2 separate regions of the Homo sapiens genome follow, and region 1 is linked to region 2. The links are contacts of gene promoters, found by promoter capture Hi-C in human tissues and cell types (Jung and others, 2019). All regions are on one chromosome and are shown on one strand. The core of a region is centred on a gene start or on the middle of the fragment in contact, and the rest is flanking DNA. Distances in the headings are between cores, read along the strand shown.

Evidence for each region. Contacts are between HindIII fragments. The study calls those that stand out against the background at their distance.
Region 1: a contact is called between a fragment that was not itself captured here and the fragment with the promoter of EIF3H in region 2, in 1 of the 25 tissues and cell types used here (dorsolateral prefrontal cortex).

Annotation. Positions count from the first base shown.
Region 1 is chr8:117,042,850-117,045,549 of GRCh38, forward strand. It overlaps a transcript of SLC30A8 not described here. Among named protein-coding and RNA genes, the nearest start is that of SLC30A8, 91 kb to the right of the region's middle. The HindIII fragment of the contact is 4,504 bases long and covers 1-2,700 here.
Region 2 is chr8:116,754,434-116,757,133 of GRCh38, forward strand. EIF3H (eukaryotic translation initiation factor 3 subunit H) reads right to left here and starts at 1,390. Exons shown (of 8, transcript NM_003756.3): 1 at 1,233-1,390. The coding sequence starts at 1,364. The HindIII fragment of the contact is 13,175 bases long and covers 1,039-2,700 here.

The DNA of each region.
Region 1 (2,700 bases), core at 115-2,614, 290 kb after region 2:
ATTTTTAGTAGAGACGGGTTTTCACCATGTTGGGCAGGCCGGTCTCGAACTCCTGACCTCAGGTGATCCGCTGGCCTTGGCTTCCCAAAGTGCTGGGATTACAGGCGTGAGCCACCGCGCCCAGGCTAATGTAGTACTATTCATCTGTCAATTTACAGGGTTACTTATGTGAATCAACCTTTATGGAGGGTTTATGCTTAGGATCATATCAGAAACCCTGCAGGATATCAAAGATATATAACATAAAGCTTTCTTTGAGCAGCTTATATTTTTTTGGTTGGGGAGAATAAGTTTCCAGACAGTATATAATTAGAGAAAAAGCAAAAATGTAGAGTTTTCACTCCCAGTTAGCATGGAGCCTGTTTTTTGGGATTCTAGCATGCTAGAGCTTATCAAGTTGTGATTTGAATTACAGAAACCAAGGACATTGGATCCAGACCCTCCAAACTGTGGACTTTCAGAGACAGGAAATCAGCATGGGCTTCGTTGGTCAGGAGAAGCTTCCGGCAGAAAGAGAACTTGAGTGGGTTTGTGAGGATGAGTGGGAAGTGCGTGAATAGAGAGACACCAGGGAAGTCATCGTATGTCAGGCAGTCAGAATAATCACAAAAGTGAGAGAAGCCTGGCATGTATTTGGAAAAATGAGAGATACTCCTGGTTGGGGAGATACCACACAGGTGATAAAGGTGATTGATAAAGATAGGGTCAGATTTCAGAATAACTTGACTATAAAACAGGGGTATTTTAACTTGATCCCATAAGGTCTGACACCAGACACTTTTCCCCCATAGAAAAATATAATACGGATAATATTGTGACATGTGCCTGTGAGCTACTCAGAGATTTGTGCAATTCTCAACATTTTCCATTTATAATTCTCTCCACCTGCCTTGCCCCACCACCACCCTGGGTTGAAAATGGCGTACTGAAATCCACGTAAATGAGATACCTCAAAAAACAGTAGGTAGAATTCATAGTTACATTATATGAAAAGGTAAGTTCAAAAATTTCAGTATGTTTTTTAGTTCTGCAATTATTTTATTCAATAAGTGTTGAGGAGGCAACTTTAAGCTACAGGCTATAAGGTAAACTAAGTCAGATGGAGACACTGCCTTTGAGGAGCTTACATTCTTTGGGGAGAGATGATCCATCAACTAGTAGTTATTATATAGTGTTGGAAGAACTGTAATGATGGAAGCGTAGGATGTGATGTGAGCTTTGTGAGGGGACTCTCATTAGAACTGGCCTTGACAAGTCTATCCAAAGGAGGTGACATTTAGATTGAGGACTGAGGAGGTAGTGGTCTTACCCAAGTGAAGAGCCTGGGGTAAAGTGTTCAGGCAGAGGGGTATCCGCGTACACAAAGGCCAAGAATTCACCATTGTTTCTGGGGCTGCTGTGCAACAGAAAGTCAGTATGGAAGGAAGACTAGTAAATCGGTAACATTGTTTATTCATTGGACAAATGACTGAGTACACATTGGAGGCTGTTTGTCCTTATTAGGTGATGTTATTCTCTGCAAAAGGGTGATGGAGAATCCAGTAACGAGGCCTGGAAACCAAAGGGCAAATTTATCACCTTTTTAGACGCGCCCACCAGTCCCCAGAGGACGCGTCCCAGCAGATGATTCTTGTTCAATCAGCCAACAACTGGGTTTGGAGGAGAAAGCCAAAGCATCCCCAGGGGGTCGACTGCTTCCCTAAGGCGTGTCAGCGGGTTGACAGAGCACAAGCATTGCTTCTAGAGCAAATATTGAGCGTGGTTTTCAGAGAAAAGGTTTATCTTTGGGGTATAATTATTTGGCCCACTTAATAGACGTCTTGAAAAATAGGGCTCTCTTCTTTTTAGCAGAGCTTGAACAAAAGGAAACTTAAAATCAATTAGAGGGAAAGAGAAAACCTATTTCTGTCCTTTTGGAGACAAAAGCTGTAACACAATTGGTTAAAATTCGGGGAATCAGATCCTCCTGGGCGGTGGGGGAAATACTGCTGCAGGACCGCGGAGCCCTGGCTTCAAACGCAGGCTCCTGCTGCCATCTTGTGGCGAGAAGGCGCCTTCTGCCTCAGAACTAGCTGCAAATTCCGAGCTGTTGTGCTTCTCGTGGCTCCATCCACAAGATGCATTAAACAAACGCGAGCCAGGGATTCCAGTAGGGAATTTAACACTGGCCTGCCAGGAATTAATTTCTCTACTGACAGCATTGCCTTCTGCATCCTCCTTCTTTTGGAAAAGGCAAAATTTCATCCTTTCAGCGGTGTAACTGGGAGCCAGCCCAGCTTTGATGGAACCACGATTTGACCTTTTAAAGCATGTTGGAGGGTAATAATATGGACCATTAGCCTTATTCTTCTCCTAAAGGAAGGTTCTGGTTTTTCTAGTGGAGGAACCTTTTACAATCTGGATGGAGGAAATGCTGAGATGCTCTATAACATCAGGGAAGAATATTGCCATCTTTCTCCTCACCAGGCTTCCATTTCATCGTTCCCCCACCGTACTTGAAAGGTTTTTTATGATCCAACAAATTACCTTTTTTTAAAAAAAGCAGTTAATTTATTGTTTATTTGGTATTCATCAAAGAGACCCCTAAGTGTCAATTTTGGTTTCTGGAAACTGAGAAATGACAAACACAGCTAGCCTGGGTTAATATCATTCCAGCCCAAAGCAAAGAAGTTGGATGTTTTGGCAGCTTGTGCAGTTTTA
Region 2 (2,700 bases), core at 140-2,639:
GTGACATTTAGAACAAAACATTCCAAAGTTAATCTCTTGCCTGCATCTTTCAAACTCTGCTAACCACAGACATTAAACTCATAATAATAATCATAATTAACATTAAGTGATTACACTGTACTACAGGTCACCACATAAACTTTTTCATTTAATCCAAACAACTCTATGATACAGATACTTCTCATTCCCACTTGACAGATGAGGAAAGCAAAGCCTGGAAAGGCTAACTTGCCTTAAAGTCACAGAGCTGGTTAAGTGGAAGAGCCTAGAAGACTGAATGAGCTCTTAACCACCAGGCTACACTCTTGTATCCAGTTTAACTAAGTCAGTTCAACAGATTCAATTATATGCTGCGTTTAAATTATCAACAGTTTCCACTTAAAAATACCTGCTTGCAATTACAATTTTCACATGAATTTAAAAGTACTTTCTTATTACAAATATCTAAGATCTGCATTAATAGGAAATAACCTTTAAAAAAATCAAAGGAAGAGAGGATGCTTTTTAAAAAGAGGGCAGGAAGGATACTTTTAAAACTAGAACGTCATATAAATGCATTTTGCTTCGAAACAACAGAAATAAAATTTCTCATTCTAGATTTTCCTCTTCCCAGCTAAGTCCATTTCCTTATCAAGAATTTCCTTGGATGTCCTAGTTCATGAACCTTAACTACTAAATACATTTAAGGCCCTTCTCTTTGATATTCTTTTATGTTTTTCAGAATGAACACTACAAAAGAGTATTCTAAATTATACGGTTTCAGATAAAGCGCCGAAGTACAGGCTCAAAAGAGTGGCTACAAAGTACATCTCCACTTGGAACGTTATAGATGTCAGATCCCAGCAGGGAATCAGTGGAGTTTCCTTACTCTCTCCTTCCCAGAGCCCTACTAGGTCCCTAAATCCTTCTCGACACCTTCGTTAGCTGCTGGTCTCCAGGAGTCTTTCTTCAAATCCCCCCACCGGTCATCTCAAAACAAGACCCCAGGAACCTGTCACTCACACCCCTATTCTCAGTCCCCTTCCTGAAGCCCCAACTGTCCCGTTAGAAGACAAGAGAAGGCTGTCGAAGCTCCTGAACAAAAAGTGAAGATGAAAGAGAAACGTACTAGGGAAAAACTTTGGCCCAGCCACACCAAGCCCAAGGGGGAGAATGCTAGAAAGTACGTCTGGTGGGACGGGGCTGGGAACTGCGCTCCCCACGTGGGCCAGAGGAAAAAGAACAGCACTCACAAGGCCATCTATCTGCACTTGCTTCACGGCTGAATCTCCCGAGCCGCCTTTGCCTTTGCCTTTCCCTGCTGCGCCGGCGGTGGAGCTGGAAGAGGTGGCAGTAGAGCCGGTACCTTCCTTGCGGGACGCCATCTTTCCAAGCAGACAGGAAGAAAGAGAAACGTGAGTTACCGGAAGCGGAAGTACAAGTCTCGCGTGACGTCACTCGCAGGCCGGCGTTCGAGGGGCGGAGACGGAAGGAGAAGCCAAAATTGGGCCCCGCCTCCCTCCTGTTTTCCAGTTTTACCTTCTTTCCAGGCGGTATCCTTTGTGCATGCCTACTGTACATTTTCGACCTCTTTCCGATGGAATGATCTAAGATGAAAGTAAACTTTTTAAATGTTTAATCATTCACCACTAGGCAAACCGTCATAATAGCATTACAGTTCGCATTATTTCTGTAGTGTCTCTTATGTAAAAATGCTTTCATTTCTGATCTTGCAATGAAGTGCTGTACTAACTCGCATTATGCATATTAGAAAACTGATAAGTGATTTGTCCGACATTATTCTGTTAATTAGCGATGAGCCAGTATTGCACAGCTTGTTTTACGTAATTTTAGATAGCTGCTTGTAACCACTTAGATTATATAGAAATTAAGACATAGAAACTTTTATCAGAATTACCAGAAATAGTAGCCTTTTGCTATTAGCTTCATGTAGAGATTTACCTGAGTAAAGTACCAAAGAAGTTATCTGAGGTATTGTTGAAGGATGATACAGAATATATTTTCTAAAAATCACGCTGATTTATGACACATTACTCTGAAATACACATCTCAAGTCCTTAAAAGAATATATGACAACTGTAAGAAGCCATTTTAGATAAGTAATTTGAAACATTCTTTTCTACTTCCAAATGACTTTTTTCCTATCCCTTATTTTTGAAATGTTTATTCAATAAATATGTATACAGAACTGATGAAATAATTAAATCAATAAACGGCATATCCTGCCCTGAAGTTTTTTGTTGTTTTGTCATTGGGATCTGGTGTTATATTTCAATCTGGGAGGAGAAATAGTTACATGTTACAAATTCTTAACACTACAAAATGAAAAGTTAATATCCACTCATTTCAAGTGTATATGAAATATTTATTAAAATACACCAAACCCTAGGTCACACAGAAAGTCCACAAATTTAGAGGTTTTAAAGGTTGATCCTGGTAAAATTACACTAGAAATTGGTAACAGAACATTCACAAAAAGAAGAAAGAAAATCTCGCATGGAAGAACCAGACTGGAGGTTTTTGCCTACCACTAGGTAGCTGGAATGATGAGCATTAGAAAACAGTGAGGCTACTTATAAACAATAATACATTTATTTATTGCTTTATCCTACAACATACATAACACAGTTTTGTTTCAGAATTACAATACCAATATCCTCATAGCAGTAAAACTACAAAGTAAAGTTTAAAATATTTTGC